Regions from separate parts of the Homo sapiens genome. Here all the other regions are linked to region 3. The links are contacts of gene promoters, found by promoter capture Hi-C in human tissues and cell types (Jung and others, 2019). All regions are on one chromosome and are shown on one strand. Each heading gives the region's core, a stretch centred on a gene start or on the middle of the fragment in contact. The rest is flanking DNA. Distances are from core to core; before and after follow the strand shown.

Evidence for each region. The method cuts DNA at HindIII sites, captures the fragments that hold promoters and counts their contacts. A contact is called where the count stands out against the background at its distance.
Region 1: a fragment that was not itself captured here is called in contact with the fragment with the promoter of FOXF1 in region 3 in 2 of the 25 tissues and cell types used here (bladder and pancreas).
Region 2: a fragment that was not itself captured here is called in contact with the fragment with the promoter of FOXF1 in region 3 in 2 of the 25 tissues and cell types used here (lymphoblastoid cells and pancreas).

Annotation. Positions count from the first base shown.
Region 1 is chr16:86,448,413-86,452,998 of GRCh38, reverse strand. No RefSeq gene overlaps it. Among named protein-coding and RNA genes, the nearest start is that of FENDRR, 58 kb to the left of the region's middle. The HindIII fragment of the contact is 3,146 bases long and covers 1,460-4,586 here.
Region 2 is chr16:86,544,317-86,548,852 of GRCh38, reverse strand. It overlaps MTHFSD (methenyltetrahydrofolate synthetase domain containing), which reads left to right. Exons shown (of 8, transcript NM_001159377.2): 4 at 276-389; 5 at 2,204-2,294. Among named protein-coding and RNA genes, the nearest start is that of MTHFSD, 8.6 kb to the left of the region's middle. The HindIII fragment of the contact is 8,046 bases long and covers 1-4,536 here.
Region 3 is chr16:86,508,815-86,513,627 of GRCh38, reverse strand. FOXF1 (forkhead box F1) reads right to left here and starts at 3,101. Exons shown (of 2, transcript NM_001451.3): 1 at 2,080-3,101; 2 at 1-703. The coding sequence starts at 3,058. The coding sequence ends at 543. FENDRR (FOXF1 adjacent non-coding developmental regulatory RNA) reads left to right here and starts at 4,768. Exons shown (of 4, transcript NR_033925.1): 1 at 4,768-4,813. RefSeq lists an enhancer at 842-1,608. The HindIII fragment of the contact is 9,827 bases long and covers 1-4,813 here.

The DNA of each region.
Region 1 (4,586 bases), core at 1,783-4,282, 61 kb after region 3:
GTGGGGATGAACTGGGACTGTGTACTGGAAGCACCCAGAGTGCCCTCCCCAGCTTGGTGGTCTCAGAGGAGTCAGACATCATACAGGGCACTTGAATTCCCCAAGAAGACCAGGTGGAAGTTCCATGGCTTCTATTCTATGTCCCATTCTATGGAATGAAGCAGTCACAAGCCTACCCAGATTGAATGGGCAGGGTGCAGAATCCATGTCTCAGGGGAGGGATGCAGTAGAATTTTGGAGTCACAATTGAAAACCACCACAGGGAGAAGTTTAGGCATGGGGGCTGCTGAAGTATGTTCTCTTCCCACAGAACCACAGGGCCATGCGGTCACTGGGCCAGCTGACTCAACACAGAGCATGTGTTCCAGCTGTCTCCTTGGCACAGGAGGTGTTCATGTCATCCTGGCTTGTGTTGAGTTTCAGGAGCCAACAATCAAATGGGAAATGAAGTCCCAGGTTTATAGATGGAAAAAGAACCCACAGCCATGCAAGTCTTGCGAGGGGCAGAATGAAGGCAGGAGCTGAATCCTGCACACACCAAGATGAGGTTTTTGTCCCACTTGACCCCGAATCTTGTATGTGCAATGTCTTTCACAAAGCCTCAGGAGCACTATCTGTAAAATGGATGTTTCTTTCACAATCCAGATGGATTTTCATTCTTCCTCGCAAGTGCTTTTGGAGCTGGCTGGGTTGGCCACTAAGTTGGTGGTTAGTCTGTATTTAATGAGGGCTACATTTATCACAACTACAGAGGAGTAGTAATAACAATGATAATAGTTAACATTTATTGAGCACTTCCTACAGGTCAGGTCCTAAGGTTTCTGGCACATATAAAGTCCTTAAATCCACAAGGGAGCCTGGTGGATTTAAGGACTTTCTACATGCAAGAAACTTAGGATGTAGACATAGATATGATTATAAATGATTGGTGAGTTCTCCAGTCATTTAATAGGTGATGTGCCAAGGAAAAGAGATGAAGTGGCTCACTTAAGGATATTGGGAGTAGCAGGGCTGGGCTCCTGCTCAGACATCAGGGCTCCAGAAACCCAGAGAGCTCATCTGTGTATCTCATTATAGACACACCCAAGGGAGAGATTAAACATATTTAATAACAGATGTGGGCGTAGACCAATTAGGATGAACATCAGCTGAAAACAATTGGTACTACGATTTACCGCTCTATGTTCATATCCAAATCCACTTGTGTCCATGAACTTATAACTCTATCTATGTCTATACCCAACTATACCTCTATCTCTCTCAGACTATATCATCCATCTATGCCTGTACCTAGATTCATATCCATCTACCCATATCTGTATCTGTCTATATTTATATCCCTACATGCCTCCATCTCTGTCTACATCATCCATATATGCCAGTACCTATATCCATCTCTAACTATCCATATCTGTATCTGTGTCTATATCTATATCCATCCATACCTGTACCTCTATCTCTGTCTACATCATCCATCTATGCCTGTACCTATATCCGTATCTATCTATCCATATCTGTATCTATGTCTATATCTTATCCATTGATAGCTGTGTCTGTATCCATAACCATCTTAGCATCTATATCCATCTATTTCTATTTATATAAATATCCATCTAAGTTTGAATTCCCCTCAGAGCAGATCCCACAGGGACTTGGTGCAGGGGGTTATTTGGGATATGATCCCAAGAGATGCAGTGGGGAAAGCGAGGCAGGAGAGGGGACAAGCTGAGTCAGGAGCATTGACAAGAGGACGAACACAGTGGGCCACATGGGCTTAGTCCCACTGGAAAGCTCTGGGGGGACCCTGGGAAACATGCCCCAGCCTTGCCTCACTACGGGTTTTTCTCTCAGTTTGGGGTCCCCCAGAAACTGGCCCTGAGATGCAGAGATAATATTTAGGAGGTGGTCCAGACACCAGGCTCATGGGCACAGCAGGGCAGCCCTGATGACAGAAGCAATGCATTTTGGAGATTGGTGTGCAAAACAGCAGGGACAGCAGCCCATAAAGGGTTTGTATTGAGCAGGTTATGTCTGTGGGTGGCTGTGGCTTAATCCTGCTAGGGAAACTCTGGGAGCCTCCCAGAACAGAATTATCCCACCTGGTGGGGAAGGGAGTTGAGGTATTGATACCCCAGCTCCTATGAATCAATGTTTGAGGTCACCTCCTTGGGGTGGGTGTTAGTTCCTTGCTATTTCTGGTCTGGCTCACAGGTGGGAATGGGGTCTCTGGAGGCAGAGAGAGCCCACAGGCCATGAAATGCAGGAGTCGGAATTGGAGTTTGGTTCCCCGTTCACAGAAGAGGTAAGGCTGAGAGGAATTGGGACAGGGAGTACTGACAGTGACTACCTCAGGTTTTTACTCACTGACTCCTCACTGCAGGAATGAGAGCTGCCCTCAGGGATATCCAGTCCCTGCTTCTGCTGGGCTGTCCTGTGTGTGCGCTGATCAGATTCCCCTGGTCAGGAGACACCCTTAGGTGAGGAGCAGAGGCATTTGGGGCCGGAGCTGGGTGGGGGACTGGGTACCTGGGCTGCAAGTATAGTCAGGTGTGTGCGAGCCATCGTGACAACCTCCATTCTGTGTCTAGTTCTGTATCATCAACTAGATCAGTCCAGGCCCAGAAAAAAGAGCAGACGTCAAACCCCATAGGGCTTGTCTGTAGATGCTGTGTCCCAGGCAGTTCTGATTTTCCTCTTTGGGCTCTTAGAAATATTCTGAATTTTCTCCAATCAACATGCATCACTTCTGTAATCAGCGCTGTGCTGCTGTGCCCACGAGCCTGGCTCTATTTTCTGGAGCCTTTGAGGAGAATCTCTAGATCTTCTTGTCTTGTCTGTGCCCAGCTGGTGGCCGAAGCCTGCCCTTCAGCATCTTGGGTCTTGTTTCTCTCATCTTTAAGATGAGGATGTCGATTATAAAGATCCATTATACATTTTAAATTTATTTTCATGCACATGATTCTCAATAACTCCCCAAATTAAAGTTTGAAGGCACCGAAGATTTTAGAACAACAAAAATACTAATGTCAGAAAGTGCAAAATGTCTTCCAAACATCCTAGGCAAACACAAAGCCGTTCTCCACCCGCCCTCCGAGACCAGCCCACGGGTTCTCCTCCCACAAGAAGGGTATTTATAGAGCATTTTCTACCAATTTTCACTAAATCTTGTTTTTGCCTCCCCAACCCACAAAGTACCTGAGGTGTAGAAGTGAATTTATAACAGGAAGCCTTTGATTCTTGAGCCTTTATGTTTTTGAAGGCCTCCAGAGCAGAGCTGTAAAACAGCTGGCTTGTCTTAAAGGAATGTCCCATTCTCCACGCGGGGGTTGGCACCCTGTCTTCCTTAGCAGAGGAGGGGGACGTCTGCGTGCTCAAAGAGAGGAAGCGCCTGCCCCGTGGAGGAAGCGGGTGTCTGGGTGTGAAGGCTCCTCGCAGCCCAGCATCCGTCCCTCCTCCTTGGCCACAGCCTGATCCTGAACTCTGACCACGGGGTGAAACAAGCACAGAGGGGCCTCAGGGCCTGGGGGCCTCTATCCTCAGCCAGCAACCACAGCCGGACAGCCCAGACGTGGGGCTACCTCGAGCATGATGTCCCTGTTAGATCTGGGGTCAGTATGCCTCCGTATCTCTGTTTTTCCATCAGTTTGATGACTGCTTTTATTGTGGTGAAAGTGAAGAAATGTGATCGCATCAAATGCAAGTATTGATGGGTAGAGGCACTTGGATTTCAAAAAGGTTAAAAGGTGCTCAATATGCATCTTAGAACCAAGGAAATTAGATAAACAGAGACTAAGTCCTCAAAGAATTATAGATCTACCCAGAGGGGTTGCCCAGAGAGTCCGAGCTCAACCCGCTGCACCCCCACTTAGGGAGGTGGCTCATACACCTTCCAATGGACTTCCCAGCACCTAGTTGACTCCCCCAAACAGGGCGTCCGCTGTGACCCCCATAAGTGGCCTCAGGGAATCATCCCCCAATAATCTGGGGCCGTGCACTCTCATTGAATCCTCCTACAACGTCATGTGGTCAATGTTCTCATTCCCATTTTATGCTAGAGGAGCCTGAGCCTCAGGGATGTGTAGCTCGAGGTCATAACTAGAAAGTGTGCACTGTCCCTAAAGTGTATGCACTTTAAAGCCAGGTCCGCATCTCGAAATCCTAGTGCTGCACAATGTTCACACTTTTCATCTCGTTTGCTCCCGCCCTGGGTGATGAAGGGGTTTAGTCCAACTCTACGATGGCAGAGTCGAGTAGCTGTGACAGAGACAGTATGGTGACTCACTAAACCCAAAATATTTTGCAGAAGAGGAAACAGCTTCAGAGAGCTTAAACGGCATGTTCAGAGTAAGTGGCAGAAGCAGGGACTCAAGTTCTCACCAGAACAAACTTCAGTCTAGACCAGGGACTGGCAAAATACAGGCCCAATCCAGCCTACCACCTGTTTCTGTAAATAAAGCTTTATTGGAACATAGCCATGTACATTTATTTACGTCTTGTCTCTGGCTGCTTTTCTGCTACAAAGAAGGAGTTGAGTAATTGTGTCAGTGACTGTGTGCCCCACAAGGGCTAAACTATTTACTATGTGG
Region 2 (4,536 bases), core at 965-3,464, 36 kb before region 3:
AACAATTTTGAATGGCAAGTGAAATCAAATTAGCAAGTTTAGTAAACCCTCTGGCTCTTCAGGGTAAGGAGGTGCCGAGTGGTGATTCTAAGAAAAATCGACCCCACACATTATTTAATTAGGTTTTCAAATAAGTAATTTCCTTGGCACACACCAAAAAAAACCATGCGGATAATAGTAATTTGCCTCTTCTCCTGAAATGGTAAAAATACATATAAGAAAGTCCTATGGAATAATTTGATTTTGTAATTTATTGATTGTCTTTTCTTTAAAAGAGCAAAAAAACATTGTTGGTTCCAACACCACGACTGAGAACGGGATTGTTTAATAAGATCACACCACCCCCTGGGGCAACTAAAGACATCTTGAGAAAATGTGCCACCTCTCAGGTAAGTACCAGAAGCAATGTCCCCACCTAGGAAAGAACTGTACCCTGTGAAGGCTTCTGACGACTTAGCATAAGATAGCAGCACACAGTTGGAATTCATTTTTAACAGAGCCAAAAGAACAGAGATATTAAAGTATTCAAGAATTCTGTCCTTAATGGAGCCACGTGGGAAAACTGAGTAAACAGATTCTATTTCTGTAACTCAGTTTCTATTTTGCACGAAATTGGCAAATTATAAATTCCTTATTGTAAGAAAAGGGAAGACGGGTGATCTGGTTCTCTGGCACTGCCCGGTGTTAACCTGCGATGTTCAGTATTGTGGAGCTTTTTCTTATTCCCGGCCTGTTCATCAGGTGCCACCAGAGCGACTGGGGAGACAGGATAGAATTTCCAAAACATGCTCCATTGGAAATTGCCTCACCAGTTCTAAGTGAGTAATTGCTGATAATTACATATTTAAGATTTTCTTGAATGCCTCACAATTTAGTAAAACCAAGTGTACAAATATGACTTTAGGGTGCATTATAATAAAATTGGTCATGTATTTTACAGTTAAGTCGAATTTGGTGACTTTTTTAAGAATCTTAAGGTAAACTCCAAGTCATTTAATTTTTAATCTACTGAGAAGAAAAAATAAGACAATTGAAGATACGCTTTTTTATGGGATTTGCCACTTAAGCCTAATGTATAAAACTGGAACGTTTCATTGTTTACTTATTAGCACCCTGCTTATTCCAAAAATAGAATTTGATATGGTTTCTAAAAATACATACAATAAAGTAAAAAATATATATATAGAGAGAGAAAGGAGCAAAGGAAAAAGAAAGATAGAAAACTGAGACGAAAGCATGGTGATGGTCAGCATTCACAAATGCAAGCCGTCTCTTCCTTTGCAGTTGGTCAGTGCCTGCCCCCGTGGACCCTGCGAGATGATGAGAACACAGGGTTTCCTGCAGTGCAGGGTTTCCTGGACTAAGCCCCCTTCTGTGACTGTCGGGAGACCCCCAAGCCACCCGTATGCACTGATCCATACGGAACTTGTCATAGCACTGCAGGCAGATCCCACCGCCACATCGAATGATCAGTTACTGCTGGATACGGGACTGAAAATGGCTTTTTCCTGAGTCTTACATAAACCGTGTTATGAGAACCATGAACATATTCAGCTTCCCTATTCTTTATATGCATGCCTGCATTAGTATAAAGCGGTACACTTTTGGGACATTTTGGTTGAAGGGATAATTTTTTAGAAGCGAGTATATTGTACATAAAGATAGTGGCCTTCAGGATTTTATATTGAATAAATATGTCATACAGTGTTTACTGACCATGTCTTATGTGCTAAATGCATACGTTTTGTTATTTAATTCCAACACTGGTCCGACGAGGCAGAGGGTGGTGTCCCTGTCTTACAGCTGAAGAAACTGAGGCTCAGAGAGCTCCAGCCTGCTGGGGACCTGTGGCTCAGAGGCTCTGAACCCAGTTCCCTGGGACTCTGCCCCTGTGTTTTCACCACTGTGCTCTTCTGCCTTATGGGGAAAAACGATTTGTTAAATGTTATGAAGTTGGCAGCCTATGAATTTGTGCTGTGAGTTCCTCTTGGCCGCCTTTCTGGGAAAGAGACTGGGGAAACTGTGCCCTAAAGCGGTTTCTGGAATGCGGCTTCTCCTGAAACGCCACATCTCCGGTGTTGCGTGTGCCTGCATCTGTTTTGTCCAAGAGGTTGATTCAAACCCTGAGTGCACTTTGATCATGAATTATAAAATGAGGAAGCAGCTGGAGTTGAAGTTTTCCAATCCGTATCTCTGTGTGCAGGGTGTGAGGAACTACAGTGTCCCCATAGGCTTGGACTCCAGAGTCCTCGTGGATTTAGTTGTGGTGGGATCCGTCGCCGTTTCTGAAAAAGGTAAGACTAGCAGATGGGAACCCTTGAGTGTGACAGCTCTGCCTGAAGGCGGCTGCGTGCCAGGCTGTTTGTCTTTCAAAAGTCGCCAGTGGTGTCTGCTTTCTGGATGCGCTTACCTGGTCTCCGAAGCCGCTGCATTTTTCAGAGGTGAAGAATTGGCTCAGCCCACCCGCTTCTGGCCCCAGCCCAACATGTGTACAGCATTTTCACTTTTCTTAGCAGGAAAAACAAAGTGAGATAACTCTCTGTTCAGGTGGTGAAAGGTTTTCTCTCTGTTCTTGAGTGAGCTGGAGCTTAATTTCTTTTCAGTATGTCAGTAAATAGTTGGTTTTGGAGGGACTCCAGCAAATGGAAAAACAGTAGGTTCCAAGCTTTGTTTTTATTATGAAGCAGCAGACTCTTGAACAACACGGTGTGTCCGAGACTCCTGAACAACGTGGTGTGTCCGAGACTCCTGAACAACGTGGTGTGTCCGAGACTTCTTCTCAGGCCTGGTGCTTTGCCACGCTGCATGTGAGGCAGGCTGCTCTCGGTCCACAAGGCCAGGGGGCCCTTGCTAAGAGGGCAGGGTCACCACACCACCTCTTGCTGTCTCCAGCTTCAGGGTGCCCTCTTTTCCCAGCCACCACTGGAGCTGATGTGGGGACATTGTTCTTTATTCTTTGCTTTCAGTGCATTCCCAGTTTCTGGTGCTTCGTCTGTGTCATCGGGGCTGGGGACTCAGGAGCGCACTGTTCTGGTATACCTGCTACACCTGCTGTGTGCCAGGCAGGCACTGGGTGGTCTTTAAGTGCATGGTGTGTGGGTGGGCCAGACACGAGAGCTGGACCAGGACAGGACGTGACGTGCTCAGTGCTGGACACAAGTCAGGACCGACGGGAGGGGGAAGGGGAGTCTGAGGAGGGACGTGCCAGCCTGGAGGGGGCATCTCCTCAGTAGCGGCCTCAGGGCTGGCTCCTGCATGCCGGCCACAGTCCAGGCAGAGGGGACTGAAGGGTCCTCAGGCAGCAGGCCCTTTACTAGGTTGCGGCCCCTTCTCAGCAGCCTTGAGGCCAGATGATGGGACTTGGGCTCTTGGTGGTGGGAAATCAGCAAAGGTCCCCTCTTGGAAAATATCATCAGGTTCAGGGATGTATAAAGAAGAAAGTAACACTTCGTAAGTTTCATCGTTTAGCTAACCCCCTGTGTAAAGTAGTAAAGTAACCATGTGTCTGCTTAGAAAATTGAACAGCACAGAAAGCTGCACCATAAGTCTTCCCTGTTCCTTCCCAGCTGCCCCATTAGGAGTTCCTAGTGTAGACGTTGTACATAGTAGCATGCGTGTGAGACACAGATATCTTTTTTTTTTAAGTTCCGGGATACATGTGTAGGATGTGCAGGTTTGTTACATAGGTAAACGTGTTCCATGGTGATTTGCTGCACCTACCAACCCATCACCTAAGTATTAAGCCCAGCATGCATTAGCTATTTTACCTGATGTTCTCCCTCCCACTGCCCCTGCCCTGACAGGCCCCAGTATGTGTTGTTCCCCTCCCTGTGTCCATATGTTCTCATTGTTCAGCTCCCACTTACGAGTGAGAACATGCAGTGCTAGGTTTTCTGTTCCTGCGTTCGTTTGCTGAGGATAATGTTTTCCAGCTCCATCCATGTCCCTGCAAAGGACATGCTCTCATTCCTTTTTATGGCTGCATAGTATTCCATAGTGTATATGTACCACATTTTCTTTATCCAGCCTATCGTTGATGAGCATTTGGGTTGATTCCATGTCATTGTTATTGTGAATAGTGCTACAGTGAACCTACATGTGCACGTGTCTTTAGAGTAGAATGATTTATAATCCTTTGGGTATATACCCAGTAATGGGATTGCTAGGTCAAATGGTATTTCTGGTTCTAGGTCCTCTAGAAATCAGCACACTGTCTTCCATAATGGTTGAATTAATTTACCTTCCCACCAACAGTGTAAAAGTGTTCCTATCTCTCCACAGCCTTGCCAGCATCTGTGGCCATTCTGACTGGCATGAGGTGGTGTCTCATTGTGGTTTTGATTTGCATTCCTCTAATGATCAGTGATGTTGAGCTTTTTTCCATGTTTGTTGGCTGTATAAATGTCTTCTTTCGAGGAGTGTCTGTTCATGCCCTTTGCCCACTTTTTATTGGGGTTGTTTGGGTTTTTTTCTTGTAAATTTGTTTCAGTTTCTTACAGACTCTGGATATTAGACCTTTGTCAGACAGATAGTTTG
Region 3 (4,813 bases), core at 1,852-4,351:
TCTTGTCACTTCCCGCTCCCTGCAAAAGACGGCTCTAAAGGGAGACTTGCGCATTCCAAGACATTCTTTCAAAAAAAAAATAAAAAATAAAAAGATAAATACTCAACCAAAAAATAAAAGTATTTGATAATGATTGGTCTCACATGTTTGCTTTTCTTCTAAAAATTTTCCCCCACTTCTGCCATTGGCCGGAAGGAGGGGGGACCTCAGCAGAATTCCTGTGTGGGTGCGGGGGCTTTCCCCTGCACAGCACCGTCTCAGGCGGGTTCAACAGGATCAAAAACTTTTATTTACCGATGGCTGCAGTCAGATCAGACCCACCACTAACATTTCTTAACAATTTTGAAGGAGTGAGGAAGGAGGTGCCAACCGCAGCGCTGTGTCTTTGCATTGGGGACTCCTTGCCAAAAACTCCGGTTGGGGAGAGGTGGAACCCTTTTCTTCTGCCGACGGTTATACCTCGAGAAGAAAGCAGTTTCTTGTGCCGGTCCAGGGTCCCTGTGACCCGCCTGCCTGCACCAGGAGGGCCTGCGGCGGCAGCCTCACATCACGCAAGGCTTGATGTCTTGGTAGGTGACCTGCTGGTGGTAGTAGGAGCCCCCGCCGGCCGAGTGCATGGAAGAGGACGCCATGGCGTTGAAAGAGAAGACAAACTCCTTTCGGTCACACATGCTGGGCGACTGCGAGTGATACCGCGGGATGCCTGCAAGGCGAGGCGACAGGAGGGGTTGGGGGAGCAGAAGAGTTAGCCACGGTGGCTCAGAGTTCAGGCAGAGGAGCAGTGCTCCCGTGGGGCGCACAGGGCCTGTCAGCCTGGCTCCAGAGCACGGCCGCCTCCCCGCTCTCCTCCCCGAGTCCCGGCCTTCCAGCTGCGCACCCAAGGAAAAGACTCCAGAACACTTGCCACGGCCTGCCTGCCTGCCTGCCTGCCTGCCTGCTGCGTGCCTGTCCAGCCTCGGACACCGTGCAGGGGCCCAGGGCTTCCAGAGCCATAGGGGAAGTGGTGAGGGAGACCAAGTGGAGGGCCCCTAACGCCCATGGCCGTCACCGCCAGGGCAGCCACCACCACCCCCAACCTCAGAGGCTACGACTGCCGGCGGGGTTGAAGGAGAGGCCAGTGCAGGGCCAGCGCCGGGCCAGCAGCAGGGGTGAGAAGAAGCTTCTCCAGAGAACAGGCCCCGGAGCCGGGGAGTCCCCCGCAGAGAGGCTGCCTAAGGCCTCCAGGCCTGGCTCCTGCCTCCTGGGGCTGCTGACAGCTGACCCTGGACTGGCCCTGGCAAGCTCACTCCAGCTTTTTCCAGAGCTGGGCCTGCAGGCTGCGGGGGGCCTGGGGCAGAATCAGGAGGCGAGGCTGCTGCATCTCCCTTGGCAGATGCTTCTGCATGTTCGGGGTATTGGGGTATCAGGGGTGTTGGGGGTGTGGGGACCTGAAAACTTGGATCCTAAAAAACAAGGAGCCCCCATGGCCCGGTCTGCAGCTCTGACCCTCCGGGGCCTGGCCACGGCACCCTCCTGCCTCAGTCACCACAAAATGCCCCTGGACTCAGCTGTGGGTCTGCCAGGTCTGGTCCCCTGAAAGGCCGGGGCTGAGCCTCTGAGCGCTGGCCCAGCGGCTTTGGGCCTAACACCTTCCGTTCCGCCCAGCCCCAGGCAGAGGCAGCCCTCCAGGCAGCCTGAGGGCCACCACCAGGGAGGGACAGCCATCTGGCCAGCGCTGGGAGCCTTGGGTCCATCCCAGGATCTTTCCAAGCTGTGAGGGGACTTAAGGGACACAAAAGGACTTAGGGCACTGGGGTCTGGGACATCTGGCTCAGGACCAGCCTACCTGGTCAGGCCTGGAGCAGCTGGCAGCTGGAGTTCGAACAGAAAGAGAAACAGATTGGCCCAAACTAGGGTCAAGAGCGGTAGTCACTCTTCGAAGGGGGAGAGGTGGGGCCAAGAGACACCTTGGGGAGCTGGTGCCTCCCCTCAGCCTTGGGGTTCCGACCACAGAAGTGGAGGGGCTCGCCCCAGCTGGGTCCCGCTGCCACTCAGACTCGACTTCCCGGGGACCAGGGCGCCCTCGGCCTCCCCACTCACCTTGCAGCTCGGCTGGGGCGTTGTGGCTGTTCTGGTGCAGATACGGCTGCTCCAGGGAGTGCGTGGAGAGGCTGCCGGACAGGGGGTTGGCCGCGGGGTTACAGGGGGACAGGGGCTGCTGCTTGATATAAGAGGCGCCGCTGTTGAGCGCCGCGGACGCCGAGGGCGGCCAGGCCGCCGCCGAGCCCGAGTAGACGGCGTGCGGCTCCATGACCCCACCGGCGCCGGTGGGCAGCAGCGGGGAGGCGGGCACCGAGCTGTCGTGGTGCGGGTACTCGCCGGCCGCCGCGCCGCCGCAGCCGCCCATGTACGAGTGGCCGCCGTTGGAAGGCAGGTGGGGCACCGAGTGGCTGGGCAGGGCCATGCCGTCCACGTTGCCCGGCAAGTGGCCGTTCATCATGCCCAGGCCGCCCTCCAGCGCCAGGCTGTTGGGCGGGCACGAGAGGCCGCCGGCCGAGCCCTGGAAGCCGTAGGTGTCCGGGAGGTGGTTGAAGCCGAGCCCGTTCATCATGCTGTACATGGGCTTGAGCGCCTGGCATTTCCTTCGGAAGCCGCGCGGCCGCCGCCGAAAGGAGCCCTCCTCGAACATGAACTCGCTGGCCGGGTCGATGGTCCAGTAGTGGCCCTTGCCGGGCCGCCCAAGGCCCTTGGGTAGCTTGATGAAGCACTCGTTGAGCGAGAGGTTGTGGCGCACGGAGTTCTTCCAGCCCTGGTAGGAGCCCCGGAAGAAGGGGAAGCGGCTCTGCAGGAACTGGTAGATCTCGCTCAGCGTCAGGCGCTTGGTGGGTGAACTCTGGATGGCCATGACGATGAGCGCGATGTAGGAATAGGGCGGCTTCTCCGGGCGCCGGATGCCGGCGTTGGTCTTCTTGGCCTTGGACGGGCCGGACGACGCGGGGTCCATGGCCGCGCCGCCTCCCCCGCCGCCGCCGCCGCCGCCGCCGTGCGGTGGCTGCTGCTTCTCGGGCGCCGAAGACATCGGGTGGCTGCTGCCGCCGCCGCCGCTGCCGCCGCTGCTCTGCGCCGCGGACGGGCCGGGAGGAGGAGGAGGAGGAGGAGGAAGAGGACGACGGGGGGGAGGAGGGCGAAGGGGAGGGGGCTGCGCGCGCGGGGCTGGCTGCACCTCTGCCGTCATCGGCGGCCACTTCTCCCGAGCGAGCCGCGGCGCGCCCGCCCCCGCGCTCCCGCCCGCCCTCCCCGAGGAGCTGCTGGATCCGCCGGCGGTTGGCTCAGAGCCCCTCTCTCTCCAACTCCCGCCTCCCCCACCTCTCTCCTCCCTCTTTCTTTCTCGCCCTCCCACAAGGAAAGGAGCCGAGCTGAGGCCGAGGGCAGCCCGGGCGAAGGCCGTGAGGAAGCTACCCCCGCCGGTATTTTTTGGGGGGAGGCACCACCTCCAGGTCTTACGGCCGTGCGCCCCAGCCGGGAGCAGCCCTGAGTCCCCGCCGCCCGCGGCGCTCGGCTCCGAGATTCCGGGCGAGGCAGCCTTCACTCCATCTCCGCTCGGCTGCGTCTCGCGGGTCGGCCTAAGACCCTCCCGGAGTTCCCTCCCTCCGTCCCTGCCCCCCTCGGGCCCCCGCGTTGGTGGGCGCTTAAAGAGCCCCCACTCTCGCCGCCCCGCGGCCGCCAGCAGAATCCGCCCCGCCTCCACCAACCTGGCGAGCAAGTGTTAATGCGCCCTCCGCCCGCGGTTCAGCCCCGGTGCGCGCTGGACCCCGCCTTCCCCGCCCGGGCGGCGCGGCGGGAAACGCTCCCTGGGCCGGGGCCTTCCCCGACGCGCACAGCCCTGTAGCAAATCGCAAGTGCGGCGGCCTCCCGGTCGTGACCATCGCAGGCACAGCCGGCTCGACTCCGGTCCTCGCGGCCGGCCGGCTAAGTTCCCGCGAGGGACCGCCTACCCACTCTCCCCGCCCCGGGAAGAACTGCGCCGCTCCCGGGATTTTTCGGACTCGCCCAGCAGCTTGCGAGCGGGCGGGCAGCCGCCGGGGCAGAGCGCAGGCGGAAAACGAAAGCGCAGCACGAGTCGCGGCCGCTTTGTCTCGGGCGCCGCGGGCCTGACGGGGGCGAGTGAGAACCCGCTGGCCCAGAGGCGACCCAGACCGCACAGGCCCCTGAATAAGCGGCGTGCTCAGTCACTCACCCGTGCGCGCACACCCTCGCGCTCTTGTCCACACATTAGCACACACATACATGTCTTGATGCACATGCAAACCCGGTAAATTACGCAAACAGACGTGTAAACACACCCATGCGTGTGTGCACACTCATATGCAGAGGGCGCTCAGGCATGTGCGCACCCACTAATGCACTCGTTGACACGGAAGCTTAAGGCCCACAGGAGCTTAAGTTCGCACTCACTCCCACTCACGCGTACACACGCCACGCTCGGATCTGAACTCACACGTAGTTCAGTTGCCCTCCCCCACCCCCAACACACACTGAAAACCCGCCTATTTGGCCCCGCGGCCCCGTTTTCAAAGCGCAGGTTCCGATTTCCCGAGAGATGGCAAAGGCCCTGGCAGGAAGTTTACAGGGTTTAACGTAAACAAGTTCTGGGGGATTCTTTAATAATAATAATAGAGAATTCCGCGTGCGCAGGGCGGGAGGGGGGAGTTGGCCTAATGCCCCTGTGGGCTCGGCCTGCCGCCGCCGCGGGGCCTCTGACACTGCGCGCCAGGCCAGGTTCCTGAGAGCAGACAGCGCGGGCTGGGAGCGCCGGCAAGGGCGGCCCTCGCGC